Linked DNA regions of Homo sapiens: region 1 is linked to region 2. The links are contacts of gene promoters, found by promoter capture Hi-C in blood cells and fetal thymus (Javierre and others, 2016). All regions are on one chromosome and are shown on one strand. Each heading gives the region's core, a stretch centred on a gene start or on the middle of the fragment in contact. The rest is flanking DNA. Distances are from core to core; before and after follow the strand shown. Region 1 holds the start of LINC01586 (long intergenic non-protein coding RNA 1586). Region 2 holds the start of ABHD2 (abhydrolase domain containing 2, acylglycerol lipase).

Region 1 (6,887 bases), core at 189-2,688, 480 kb after region 2:
CTGGAGAAATTATTTTTTCTTACTTTTCCCTTTTTTCTGGAGTGTTCTACTTTCTATAATGGACACAGTTGTTTTGTTTTGTTTTGGTGAGACAGGGTCTTGCTCTGTCACCCAGGCTGTAGTGCAGTGGTGCAATCACAGCTCACTCCAGCTTCAACCTTCCAGACTCGAGTGTTCAAGTGATTCTTCCACCTCAGCCTCCCTAGTAGCTGAGACTACAGCTAATTTTTTTTTTTTTTTTTTTTTTTTTAGTAAAGACAAGGTCTCAGTATATTGCCCAGGCTGGTCTTGAACTCCTGGGCTCAAGTGATCCTCCTGCCTCAGCCTCTCAAAGTGCTGGGATTATAGACGTGAGCCACTGCACCCAATTTGAGCATATTTCCTTTACAAACAGGGGAATTATTTTTAAAGAGAAGCAGGCAAGTGGCTCATTTCTCTCTTTCCTTTACTAATCATAAAGCATTGAACCACCATGCAGAAGAGAAACTAGAGCTTGGAAATGGTGACCCCTCTCTACTGGTGCCTCCCCCTTCTGGAAGCCTATGGGCATGGCCCATGGTGAAAATTCTTCCTGTGGTTACTGAGCCCTGGAAGCTTCAGAATGAAGTCAGAGTGGTGGTGCTGGGGTAAGCAGAGCAGGAAGAGGAAAAGGGGAAATGGTTGTGGACAGGAGGCTGGTGGAATCCTGGCCCAGTCATCCCCTCCCTGCAGGCACAGCGCTGGGCTCCCTGGTTAATTTCCCTTGCAGTGTGGCACTGGTGGAGGAGAGGCAAAGCCCCTGCTGCCTGGGCCAGCCTCTAATTGCGCTGGCAGGACACATCCGCTCCTTAATTAGCAAAAGCCACAATATCCTGGCGGCTCAGAGAGCATGGCCCTAATTGTATTTCTGCAGCAACTGAAGGATAATTACCCTTCCCTATTGGTGCTGCTTTTAATTCTTTCTCTTTTTAATTGTGAGCACTTCCTCTTTAGCCCACCCTTCCATCCTTGGGTTTATTCTCTCTATCCAGAATGGGGGTGGGGGCTTGCCTGGTGATGGAGACGCTCAGGAGCAGGAGGAGTGGGGGGAGTCATGGAGAAGACTGGCAATACCTAGCTCTGAGTCCCAGCCCCTTCCAGCTGTCAGCCTGAGACAGGGCACATCTCTGCCATGGGTCTGAGAAAAACCAAGAAGTTCTTTTGTGGAAGATGTAAGGGAGAGGTGTTCCTCCCCCAGAGGCTCTTTATGACCCTCTTCAGTCTACCCCGCAGTGAGGTGCTGGCTCTGAAATTCCCAGCTGTAGAAAACTGAGACCTCCTTTCCCCATCCTTTAATCTATCAAGAAACAGAGATGGATGTGTGGTCTTTAATTTCTTTTACAAAAAAAAAAAAAAAATAGCCCCGTGCCTCTTTGCCACTGTTGAGAGGAGGGTTAGTCCTTCAACCTTGAATTGTTTTAGAGACAAGGACCTGAGGGTACCATTAGAGAACAATGCTAACTAAGGTAACCCCTTGGTTAATAGGAGAGCTTAGCACCCTAGGTATTTCTAGGAAAAACAGGCCTTTCTTAGGGACCTGGCAAATAAACTTTGAGAAGTAATAGACAAGCTAAAATGCACCACAAAGAGAGTTTGGAGAGAACCACAGCATCTCTCTGGATGTCAGCTTGCAGGACTGACTGATCTAGCTTACATGAGCAACCCTGGCCCTAAAGCCACCACCCAAACCACTGCCCTGCTAGAAGCTCACTATGAGAGCAGGGACTCTCACTCATTATTCTTCCAAGTGCCTCGCGCACAGCCTGGCCCGTGATAAATGAAACTGGTTGGCAAAGAAGCAGAGTTCAGAGACAGAGTAGGATTGTGAGGTGTGAACAGGGTAAATCCATTTTCATTGGCTTTTTCCTTACAGATCCAATGAAGATGAATTTGAACTGATTGTGGCCCTAGTTTTCAAAATTCTTTAATTCTGGGCTCTATCTGAATTGGGAGAAGATGCAAGCAATAAAAGAGGCTGCTGTAGTCTCAAAGAAATATATTTTGAAAAAATGACCTGCCCTTGAGCCCACCAACTTCCACTCCCCACTTCTAATTTCTTTCCTCTGAATTTAGAGCTGTTCCCTTAGCAACGCTTGTTTCCATGGTTTCCTCCATGACAATGATCCCAAACCCCTCCTCTCTTTTACCTCATGACAGTAATGGATGATGGGGATCCTCAATGTGGCCACTCCATGTTACCATGGTAACAATTAACTGAGCCTTAATTTATCTTTTGTGAAGAGGGCTAGGGAATATGAAGCTTTTGATTTGGAGGGGGAGGGTCCAGGTCTAGAGCTACCATTCTCATAAAGAAGAAGATAAGCTATTTGTCTTAATACTAGCCAGTAGGATTTAGTTCAAACATTTGTTCAGCCCTACTTTAAGCACAACTGAGTTTGAGGGAATCAAAGGGGTACAAGACATAGCTCCTAATATTGAAGGGCTAATAGTCTAGCACTAGGGCTCATGGTACCGCTGAACTCTGGCACAGATGGGGCCAATAAAGAATATGGCTCTTGATAGCACCGTGATGATCAGGCATCTATCCATTCCCAGTATCCCCTCCTGCCAAGAACCAAAAAAAGACTGACTGAAGTGGTCTGTACTCACATTAAGACTTCTTCCGGGCTGTTATCAGAGAGTTTCTGTCCTGAAAGGGAAAGAACTTTGACTTCCCCTCTTTTAGGGAAGTGGGGACCAATGCCAGCATCCCTGAGTAGGACTATTTGGTGCAGGAAAAAAGAGAAAAATAAACAGACCTGCCCATTGCCAGTGCAACAAAGGACTGGGATAATCTCCAGTTCCAGGATAACCATCACCTACCTGCAACAAGTCTTCCTGGGAAGCGATGAGTCAGCTCTTACATTGAATTAAAGAGTCATTGTCTCCATCCATTCAGCTTTTCTATTTGTCACTGAAAATTCAGGCCAAAAGCGCAGCTCTGAAGAATGAAAGTGGAAAAACAGACAAATAAAAATCAAAGTGAAGAGGACACCAAACACCAAACACAAAACACCAAAGCTGAGAGCTGAGTAGAGTGAATCCACAAGCTGAGATATCCATTCTGCATCACAAGCAATGCAGTTCTTCCGACTTCTAGCTTTCCATCTTCATCTCCAAAAGTTTTCACCAAATCTCTAATAATGAGGACCAATTATCTATTTTTAGGGGAAATCACAAAATTCTCTGGACCCTCAGTGTGCTGGTAACAATAACCTGCACTGACTTGGAAAGATGATCACAGTATCTCCTAAAATGAAGGGGGAAAAAAGCCATAGGACAATGTATAAGGCAGGTATGTTGAAGTAAGCTGCGAATAGGTAGGTAAAAAATGTCATCCTTGCAAGTCAGTGCAATCTGGATTAGCCAAAGTCAATTCCAGATCCTGAGTCCAGGACTCTGAGTTCTGTCCTTTGCTACTGGATGGAACTAAGGCAGATTCAATCCTTCTGTGTACCCTGCTCACTCAGCTAGTCAGAAAAGGATAAATGGCATCCTCTTATTGGTTGACAAGGCAATACACACCAACCAATGAAAGAATGCTTCTTCCTTTCCAGCCAATAAGAGCTCAGTTATCTTCTTGAAAGTAGACCCTTTGTCCATAAAGAAAATAAGCAGAAAGTGAATAATAATTAAAAAAAACCACACAACTGTTGCTATGGGACATTACTGATGTGATCAATGATAGCTGCCCCGGACAATTCATAAAGGAAAGCACTTCTTTGGGAAGAAAAGTACAAAAAGCAGACCAGCTGTCTGGTCTGGTCTAAAGGGAAGTTTCTATAGTAACATGGGAGAGAAAAGCATTTTAAAAGCATTTTAATGTAAATACCCGCAAAACTATCAAGTCAGTTCACCGAGCGAATTTTTGACCTTTTAAACTTATGCTGAAATTATAATGAATAAAAATTCTTATATTAATAATAAATGAAGGAAATGGAGAGAAAAGAAGAGAACAAGAGGAGAAAAGAAAAGACCTGTGTGTTTATGGTTCAGGGCATCACAGATAAAGATATCACAGTTCCTGCCTGAAACAGAAATGTTCTCCAACCCCGTGTTGTCAAGTAATATCTCAGTTTAAAACAAACTTCTTTTTGTTGTTGTTATTGTTGCTGTTTTTCGGGAAAGAGAACGTTCATGGCACTTAGACTTATTTGAGATGAAACAGTGCACAGAGCACAGGCTGTTCTGGTAACTTGCTAGCGATTTCCTCTCAAATCATTCTGAGAATGTTACAGCTGCCTTTGGAAAATTATGAGTAAAATAATTTCCTACCCAGATGTTTCTAATGGACATAGGCAGGGCAAGGCTGACAGGTGAAAGTGGAGTCAATGTTTGTCAATCAAGGGAAACAGAAAAACTCAGAGGATTAGAAGCTTTAGGTGCTGTATTTGCTAATTATGAAGGCGATGCTGGGGAGGAAGAAGAGAAGAGAATCTTGAGGAATCAAATGAGAGTGATGCTAGTGTCCATCTGCTAAGGGAGACACGTTTCCCTCTACCTGTGCTTTCTATGTGGTCTATGGGGCAAGGTGAGAAGTGGGGGTAATCCAGAATTCAGCCCTCTCTCCCCTGAGGGGAGTGGTTTAGTGGGGCAGGGATGACTATCAAACCAGGGAGAAAGTTTCTCTCTACAGTAGACACCCCTGGACAATTTCCTTGTCTCCCTCCTGTACATCCAGGAAAAGCAATTTTTTTTTCTCATTTTAAGGGGGAAAAAGAGAGGGTGGGGATAGGAACTCAGCTCCTTCAGTATAAAGGACTAAATGAAAAATATAAAAGCCCAAATTGTAAATCCTGGAGAAATGAAGCCATGGGGTGGAGGGGGGAGGGGATGACTGTAGTGGTGGAAAGGTAAGTTGCTCTGCTATGCGCCTTTACTTAAAATAAAAACAAACAAACAAAAAACAAACATCTTCCAGGATTTCCCCAGACGGGGCCTTACGCGGGATCGATGTGCCTCTCACCTAGCCCAGACAAGGCAGGGGCTCCCCAGGAGATATTTTAAATAGTCAAGGTGCTCACTGATTATCAGTGGCCAAAGCCCCGCCACCCACCGTAACCAAGGCAACAGGAGGCAGGTGCTGCGACTGGTTGCCTGGTAAGCATGCTAGTGCCAAGTCCTTTCCCTTCCTTCTCCACCTCCGTTAGCCCTTTTGTGATAGCGCCTCTCCCTCCGCTATCTTTCCCCTTCTTGGCCAAACAATAATCTTTGCTCCTCATACAAAGGTCACTTTGGGCTCCTTTGGGTAAAAAAACGCGTACCTTGATGTTCTTTTTGAACAGATTTCATCCACGCTTGAGTTTTGAGACCTAGATAAAATGTGCTTCTTACCTCGGCTTCAATATCTTCTCCCTCCACCCCACTCTTTCCCTTTCACTCACTCCTATTAAGGCATACAGAGAGCGCGGGGAGGAAGGAAGGAAGGGAAAAAGGAAGGGGGAGAGAGCGAGAGGGAGCACGGGGGAGCGCAGGATTTAAATGTGGCGATTTTTCACGGAACACCAGAGCCTGGGGCTCACAGTAGATCCTCTGTCCCGCTTGCCCCTTTGCTCACCGCCTGCAATCGTGCCTCTGCTCCCCGCACCACTGCCTAAATTTGGCGCCAAGTTTTTCCACTGGTCGTGGCCAGAGCGAGAGAGAATGCTCTCCTAGAATCCCACACCTAAATCCCTGGAGAAATGAGGAAGATGAGTCCCGCTTTCTTCCGCGAACCTGTGTCACCTCCTGACCTCCTCCGCGTGGGGTCTGAGGGGCCGCGAGCGCAAGTGGCGTGGGCTGGGAGGCCGAGCCGTGCGCAGGCACCGACCATGGGCACCCTAGGGCCGGGGCGCTGTCCAGCCTCTGGTGCTGAAGCTGCAGGCTCGGATTCGCTGGGGGAGGGGCTCCAGGGACCTTTAGCAGCCTGATTCTGAGCCGACTCCAAGCGGGTAGCGACTCGAAGGAGAGGCGCTTGGTCTGCCGAGTGGAAAGGCTACACTGGGAAGTAACGGCATTAGGCGCTCTCTTTCAGCAGATAGGGCTCTCCCAGGGCGCAATCCCCGGCGCCTCTGATTCCCCTCCCTGGAGTTATTTGCTGCAATTGCGGTGGGTAGGAAGAAAGGCCCTTTGCACTGGGGCGATTACCCAGTGGTCTCCTGGTACTTTTCACATTTTTTCCTGCGGCTCTGGGCTCTCTGGGTGCTGGCCAGCCTGGCGCTCAGATCTGGTGGCAGGCAAAGCAAAGAGGAGAGGCTTGGAACGCCGAACCCAGCTGCTCTTCTGCATGCAACAAGTCAGCTGCATCTAGAATCAGGGGCGAGAAGCGCGGGAGGAGGGGCGACGGCGGGCTTGGGGCGGCTGGGTTGCGAGAGCCGGCTCCCGCGAGGCTGTGGGGCCGTCTTTCTCCTACTGGGCGCGGGACCGAGCGAAACAAACTGCAAGCTGGGTTTCCGCGTCGCCCCGGGCAGGTACTGGAACCAGACGCCCCCACACCTCTAGCCTGCCCAGCATCCCGTAGGAGCGCTCACCTGCTGGGCTCCGGAGTCGCCTTCCTTCCTCTTCATTTTGGCAAGGCACATTTGGCGGGTGCCAAGCCTGGCCGCTCGCTTCTCCGGCCCTCCAGAGCAGCCTCAGGCTTAGCTTCCCGAATATCAGCTCCAGTTGGCTGCTTCTCCAGTCCCGAGCCCTTGACCTGGAGGAGGGGACGGGACCGGGGACCTCGGCTGGGATTTTTACCTGGCATGGGTCGCCGCGGCTAGGGAGGAAGACCACTTGCTCTCCGTTTCTTTCTGGAAGAAAGCCCCTCACCACCCAGCTGCCGGTACTTTGCTTCCCCCCAGGAGCCGCAGTGCAAGTAGCAGCGCAGTGCGGGGGAGGGGGTGGGGTTT
Region 2 (7,780 bases), core at 4,123-6,622:
CGAAGAACCTTGAAAACTTTCTTCTTAGAGTCGGCATCAGTGGAACCCTTTGTTAGCGAGGCCAGGTCAGGCTCAGACCTTGGAAGTTTAAAGCGGTTTGGAGATCTTGGGAAATACTTTCAAGGACAGCAACAAAATTACGTGTGGGCTTGGGGAAGACGCTTTACAGAGGAGCAGGTGTGAGAGCTGGTTTTTCCTGGGGTGAGAGAAAAGAAGGGGTGAGACACTTAAAGCTACCCAAACAGAAAGTGCTGTGACAAAGGGCAGGCTTCCTCTTGGACGCCCAAAGGCAGGACAAATGGAGTGATGCTGTGGTGCAGGAGACGGGATGAAATGCAACAGAGATGCTGGAAATGAGGCCAGGCACGGTGGCTCACGTCTGTAATCCCAGCACTTTGGGAGGCTGAGGCAAGAGGATCACCTGAGGTCAGGAGTTTGAGACCAGCATAGTGAAACCCTGTCTCTACCAAAAATACAAAATTAGCTGGGGGTGGTGGCGTGTGCCTGTAATCCCAGCTACTTGAGAGGCTGAGGCAGGAAAATCGTTTGAACCCGCGAAGCAGAGGTTGCAGCGAGCCAAGATTGCGCCACTGCACTCCAGCCTGGGAGACAAAAGTGAGACTCTGTCTCAAAAAAAAAAAAAAAAAAAAAAAAGAATGAAAAAAGATGCTGGAAATGTGACTTGGGGAGGCCAGGAAGCTTCTCTGGAGAACAGAGAGCAAACGGCAAACTTTCCCTGGAAATGCTAGCACATTCTGCACAGACGGCAAGGCGAAGAAGGGCCCAAGGACCAATGCGTTCCTCACTCTCCAGTGCCCCAGCTCTCCCTTCTCAGCTGACCTTTAGAAGCTCCCCTGCACCTCCCCCGGGCTCTCACAGAAAAGAAAAATATTTGCCTCCAAATATTCACAAGATCTTTAAGATCTCCAGCAAAGCTGCTGCCTAAATAAGACTGTTTTTTAGCATCCTTAGAAACAGAAAACAGATATCTAAAATAGACGGCCTTCATAAAAAATGACGTGGAAGCTCTTTTCACACTGCCAAGAAATATTAAGTGAAAAAGGCAAGGTTCCAAATAGCATGTATGCAGTGTGCTACCATTTCTGCAAAAAGGGGTGGTGTACAGAATATGTTTAACGAATTTGCTTACAGATGTATAAAATCCCTTGGAAGTTCAGGGACCACTTCTGGAGGATGAAGAAATCGCTAATACTGGTTGCCTCTGAGGATCAGGGGTCAGGGGTACACACAGATGTATTTACTAGTTAACCTTTTGTGCCTTTAAAAAATTTTCTTTCATCATGTGAATGTATTGCCTATTTTTAAAAACTAAAATTTGAATTAAAAAATTTTAAAATTTCTATTAAAAACAATTTTAAAACAAAATAGTTTTTAAGCAACAAACCAAACTAATTTGTTAATCTTGTCAACTGTGTTCCTGGCACACACCAGATGCTTAATTTGTTGAACTTAATGAACCTCCACTTAAAGACAACAAAAGAAAATCAGAAACCAGGCAAATCCAAGGGTACCAACGTTCCACTTCTCTAAAAAGCTCTTCACCTGTCTGCTATTTATTGTGAAAGATCAGACAATGAGTCGGTGTGTAACAAGCCCCTCACCCAAATGGCCCCAGTCCACAAGCTTCAGGGGTAATGGTGGAGCTTATCGTCTGTCCACACCAACCATTTTACAAACAGAAAACATTCAATCCAAAAATATGATGCCCTGGACAAGACAACAAAAATCAATCTGCAGATATGAAAATCCTGAAAGGAGATAATGTAGCATCTGTATGGTATCAACAAAGAAACAGCAGCACAGGGCTTAAAAATGTCCTACTCATGCACTGGCCAAAAAGGCTGAACCATGAAAAGCTGCTATAAAATCCTGACACCAGACACATTTAAGAGGCACCCTGAACTTCTCATTGCTCTGTTCCTGGGGATAGCTTAGCCCAAGATGAAACAGAAAGGCTAAAGCAACTCATGCCCCACATCATCTATACTCTGAAACTGGTCATGGAGTACTCAAAACTCACAATGCAATAAAAATGGGAATACTGTAAGCTGTAGGTCATGGTAGAAATTCTGCCACACAAAATTCAATTATATTGGAAATGTCTCTCTCCTGGGGCTTTTAAAAGAGCCAGATTTTAGGCAAAAAATAAGACAGACTCTACCCCTGTCTCCCATAAGACCAAAGAAATTATTTCCTGCTCGGGGCAGGAGCTCTGAACAAGGGCAGTGAGAACCACTACAGAGGTTATGGGTCCTGCCGGAGATTACCAGGAAAAGGCGTAAATGCTTAAAGCAACGAGTAACAGCAAATGAGAAGCTCATCCACCAAAATACTGAGAAAAGAGAGTGAGAAAGAGAGAAAGGGGCCCATATTAATACACAAGCAAAGAAATGAAAACTATTATTCTAAAATGGCTGATCTCTAGAACAGCTTAAACAAAAACCGAAATTCAGAATCAACTCAAGAAAAATAAAGCATGAGAAGGTGCCATTTAATGAAGTGATAATCTTTGGTTCAATCTAGAAAACAAGTAAAAACAGAAGAGAAAATCAAAGGTGACTGGATTCCTGCAAAAAATGAAAGTGGCAGGCATCTTTTCATCAAAAGGGAATTGGCTGGCACACTGAGAGTGCCTATTTGTCAGACCCACGCAGGCGATAAAGGAAATGAAGGTGAGAGTAAAAAGGGAAAAAAGTGAACGACCCTGACTAAAATGAGAGGAAAAAGACCATTCCCTTGTACTTGCCATCTGGTTTATTTCAAGCTTTGGAAAAGAACAGGAAAAACACAGATAAACCAGTGAACCAGCTAGATTGCCAGCACGGATCAGTCACACACTTTTGCTTCTGCCAGGCCAGGCAGGCGCTGCTGGTGCTCCCCCTATTCGAATGACTAAGTAACTTCCTTAAATGCAGTTGACACATGATCCCTGAACTTCCGAAAAGCACTTAATACAGTGGCTCATAAAATCTTAATCTAAAAATGTTCATCCATTTAGAATCAAGCTGCATCACACTCATCGCTTGGGAGGAGGGCTGAAGAGAGGGAATACATATTTGGAAGGACACCATGGACACGGGTATCATCCAGGACTTTACCATTTCGAGGGATTCCCACCCCTCACTGCCTGCTTTTAACGATAATTTTAAAGGGTTCAGAGCCTAAGAAGAATGTAACTGCAAGGGGGAACTAACATAGAAACTAAATTACCTGAATCACAAAAATAAGTAAGGTATAAAATGCAACGTGACTTGGAAACCCCTTGCAGCTGTCTGTGTTAAAATGAAATCTGGAATATGTTAAATGAATTTGGGGGTGGGGGGAAGGGGACTGGGGGAAAAATTAGCTCTTGATAGAGTATTGGGTGGTGGATATGAAGAAAAATGTACAAAAAGGCAACAGAATATCATATCTAGCAAATCTATTGTGCTTACCCTGTGCCAGGTACTGTTCTAAATGCTTCAGATGTAGTAACTCCATGCACTTCTCAAAACAATCTTCTAACATAAGTATCATTATTATTTCTGTTTTAGAGGTGAGGAAACAGAGGCACAGAGAAGTTAAGTAGCTTGCCCAAGGTTGTACAGCCAGTAAGAGGCAGGGCTGGGATTCAAATCCAGGCACTCAGGCACCAAAATCTGTCCTCCTAACCTCTCTGGACTCCCCTAGAACTTAAAACACTGAGAATGGGCAAACTAAGCTTGGAGTGAAATAAGTCATGCACTGGCTAGATCTAAATACAGTCAAGAGATCAACCCTTAGTCATGGGCCTGTGATGACCAACCAGCCCTGTGACCACCCCAGGCCTCAGTTTCCTCACCTGTGCATTGAGGAGACTGAATGAGAGTCCACCTAATTAGACTTAGATAGAGATGAGCTCTATCTAAGGTGCCTTCAGCTCTAAAATGTCACAGTCCGTGCTGACTACCAGCTGTATATGGACTGCTTTCTGACTAGATGTTCAAAGATTAATTCATCCTAAAACACACAGCAAGGTGTGTTAAGATTCTTTCTCTGCCTCCTGACCTTTAGATTATTATGTTCTCTCTATTCCGGCAAATGACAGAGGGTAGTGAAGGATTTCTCTTTTGGACTCTGCTTAATGTGGCTGTAAGGAAACGGCCTTCGAAAAGCTCTGGGCACAGATCTTGTTGACTCTGCCAAACCTGCAGTCTCTCCAGGTCCCTCTGTGGAGCCTGTTCTTGGAACATGCCTTTGGATTTGGTTACTGGAATGCAGGTGAAACTGACAAACTGGAGGTCCAGCAACCAAAAAAGAGAGATTGGGAAGATTAAGAGAGCGGTCCATGGTAGTTCAAATACAAGGAGTTTCACAGTGGCTAAATAAACCTCTATCTTTTTGTATAATCCAGTCTCTTTGCTAACACCCACTCTTGAGAGCTGAAACCTCAAAATTCATTATGGGTGAATTCAACAGCCACTTGGAACCTAATGGACCCCCAGAAGTACTCTTCTCAAGCTAGGCATCAAAGGCCACTTAGAGTGCATTTGTGGGTAGAGAAGGCCCTTACAGATGGGTCATGCAGTCCTCCCTTGGGAGTCCTAAGCATCCGACACAGGTGGCTGTCATCAGGCCACTGCTTGGACATCGCCAAGGTCGAGGCGCTAGCTGCCCGGCCTGGCAGGCAGCCTCCTGCGCTGCTGGACAGCTCTAGCTGTGGGAAAAGCTCACGAAGGGCCTAGAACAGTGCCGGTCGCGGGGCCGAACTCGGTAAATGTGCTTCCAAGTGGGTCAAAAGCTGCCTTTCTAGAACTTAAACCCACTGGTCCTGCGTGAGCCCCTGGAGCCCCGAAACACAGAGGCCTCTCGGGTATCTCGGGCTGTAATCAGGCCCCTCGGCCCTCTCCTTCCAGGTGCGGATCCCGGACCTTCTTCGCCGAGCCTGAACCGGCAGACCCCTCCCCAGGCCCCTGAAGACCCAGGAGTGAGCACCAATGGGGGAAAGGCCGCGGTCGGGGTTGTCCCCAACCTCGGTTCCTCGGGCAGAAGGGGACAAAGGGCCTCAGGAAGGCGTATCCCCCGCCGCGATCTGGGCTGTCCCCACCACTGGGCAAGCCAGCCCCTGGGACCCCCACGGCGCCAGATGACAGGCCCCCCAGGATCCCCTCAGGCTGCGGCGTGATGGGCCGAGCTACGCCGGGGACCTCGGGGCTCGGAGATTCGGTTCGACGGGTCCGGGGTGCGATCCCCGCTCCGCGGAGCTCGCTCGGCCGTGGCTTTACCTGCGTGTGATTGACTACAGGTGCTCAGCTCGCCCCCAGTCTGGTTCCTGCAGCTCCCCGGCTGCCAGCGGCGCTCATGGATATACAGCCGGAACCCCTGGCCAGTGCAGCTCCCGCCGCTACCGGCCCCGCCCAAGTAACTGCCGCCACGCCCCTGACGACCGCTTCTGCCACGCCCCTAACCACGGAAACCGCTTGTTCATTGGGCAGTTCAGCCGCTTCTCCACTTGCCCCGCGCGCTCATTGCGTCTAGGAGGGGATCCATTGATCAGCGAAGCTGTTCCTCAGAGTGGAGGCGGGATTCTTAGGGGAGAGCTCCTCAGCAATTGGTTACATTTGACGGCTTTAGTCCAGGGACCCAGACGCTACTGGATAAGGCCAGCCCGGAGTGGGCGGGGAAAGGGGAGGAGGGCTAGAAGGTGGGTCGTGTTTGATGTCGATGGGGGCGGGGTGAAGAGACGGGTAATTGTGACCGCAAACTGCTTTAGAGGGCTGGGTAAGGTCAGCTGTCGACTGGGCTCAGAGGAATGAGGTCGGCTGGTAGCTCAGCTGCTGGTAGCTCAGCTGGGGCTCTTATGGGTCCAGGCCGACTGACTGACTCACGTGTACTCAAATTTCGCAGGGGTGAAATTTGAGGTCATATCCCGGGAGAGAGGAAGAAGGGTCGTGAGTCACCGAACCCGAAGGAGAGGAAAAGATGTGGAGGCAGCGGTCTATGGCCTCTTCCAGCTCCGGACGGGGGATGGGGACGCTCTGGGCAATACGGGCCTCAGTTATTGTCCCACTGTCCTTTCAACCCTTAACCAACCCAGTTGGAGGCCGCCTGGAAGAATGTAGCCTTGGAACTAGGGCCTGGAATTGGGGCTCCTACCGGTTGTGTGGGCTTGGGCAAGTCACTTAACCTTCCCGCATGCTCCCTTCACTTGGCAACTGAGGGTAACAATAGTAGTTGATGAGAAGATTAAATAAACTCTGATAAATGCCAACAGTGGCTGGCACTCAACAGGCATTCAATCAAGGCTGATTCTTCCCCCATCACCCACTCACCTCATCCGGCTGGGAAACTAGGCCCATTTCTAAAATTCTATGAGCCTGAAACTGCTTTTGCAATGGCATGTCGTGTACCAAGAATAGAACACTTGAGCGACTTGAAATGCAACCCCTGTAGGGCAGACAAGGCCACCCTACCAAGGCCCCATAGGGCTCGGAGAGAGGGAGCAGGGGATGAAATGAGAGGAGCGATTTAGTCAGAGAAGGGAAGTGGCATTTGTTACCATGTAAATTTTTCCCAACATATTTCAGGTTGTGACAAGGAACAGTGGGCTGGCTCAAGTTTTATGGAGCGTAACCAAATAACATCCTTTGAAGGCTGATCAGCACCGGACCAGAAATCATTGCATGAGCTCTATCTGTCAGAGACCCCTGAAACCCATTCCCCATTCTGAAGGTGTAGACATCACAGAGTGTGGACAGAAATAGCTTCTCAGGCCTGAATGTAGCCCCAGACCCTTTGTGTCTGTCTTTGAAAGAACTCACAGCCATGGTACATCAGAGTGAAGGAGAAGAAAGAATCCTTTGCCATTGCTCTATTTTTCATTCAGTTGTCATGTTACCTTGAAAAAAAAAGGTTTCATCTCAGTGTTTATATATTCCTCTGTATTCTCTTTCATCTTGGAAAAGAAAAACCCAGGCTTCAGTAGCAAAGTCTCTTAGTGATGAACCCCATCGTCCTGACTCTGAGTTAAAACAGTTTGGACTTCCAAAAAAGAGCTTTAGATTATCACTAGATAAGTATATAAGGTAATGCATATGTTAACTAGCTTGGTGTAGCTATCCCACAATGTATACATGTATCAAAACATGGACCGGTACAGTGGCTCACGCCTGTAATCCAACATTTTGGGAAGCTGAGGCGGAGCCCAGGAGTCTGAGACCAACCTGGGCAACATAGTGAGACCCCGTCTCTACAAAAAATTTAAAATTTAGCCTGATGTGGTGGTGCATGCCTGTAGTCCCAGCTAGTGGGGAGGCTGAGGCAGGAGGGTTGTTTGAGCCCAGGAAGTTGAGGCTGCAGTGAGCTGTGATCGCACCACTGCACTCCAGCCTGGGCCACAGAGTGAGACCTTGTTTGACAAATAAACATAATAACATGATAAACATAAATAAGTAAAGCATGTTGTACATCATAAATATATACAAATTTTGTCAATTAAAAATTAATAATAATTTAAAAAATAGGCTGGGCACAGTGGCTCAAGCCTGTAATCCCAGCACTTTGGGAGGCCAAGGCAGGAGGATCACCTGAGGTCAGCAGTTCCAGACCAGCCTGGCCATCATGGTGAAACCCCATCTCTACTAAAAATACAAAATTAGCTGGGCATGGTGGCACACACCTGTAATCCCAGCTACTCAGGAGGCTGAGGCAGGATAATCGTTTGAACCCAGGAAGCAGAGGCTGCAGTGAGATTGCACCACTGCATTCCAGCTTGGATGACAGAGTGAGACTCTGTCTCAGA

Evidence for each region. The method cuts DNA at HindIII sites, captures the fragments that hold promoters and counts their contacts. A CHiCAGO score of 5 or more calls a contact.
Region 1: a contact is called between a fragment that was not itself captured here and the fragment with the promoter of ABHD2 in region 2, in 3 of 17 cell types (total B cells, total CD8 T cells and naive B cells). The highest score is 5.8, in total B cells.

What each region holds. Positions count from the first base shown.
Region 1 is chr15:88,604,797-88,611,683 of GRCh38, reverse strand. LINC01586 (long intergenic non-protein coding RNA 1586) reads left to right here and starts at 6,574. Exons shown (of 3, transcript NR_120370.1): 1 at 6,574-6,820. It overlaps MIR1179 (microRNA 1179), which reads right to left and starts at 3,577; the gene lies at 3,487-3,577. It also overlaps a transcript of AEN not described here. RefSeq lists a silencer at 5,457-5,894 and an enhancer at 6,608-6,887. The HindIII fragment of the contact is 1,684 bases long and covers 597-2,280 here.
Region 2 is chr15:89,086,048-89,093,827 of GRCh38, reverse strand. ABHD2 (abhydrolase domain containing 2, acylglycerol lipase) reads right to left here and starts at 5,372. Exons shown (of 11, transcript NM_152924.5): 1 at 5,265-5,372. LOC124903573 reads left to right here. Exons shown (of 7, transcript XM_047433432.1): 3 at 1,587-1,652; 4 at 2,545-2,693; 5 at 4,896-4,993; 6 at 5,142-5,760; 7 at 5,887-6,267. The coding sequence ends at 6,101. RefSeq lists enhancers at 4,713-5,232, 5,174-5,353, 5,964-6,609. The HindIII fragment of the contact is 11,698 bases long and covers 3,724-7,780 here.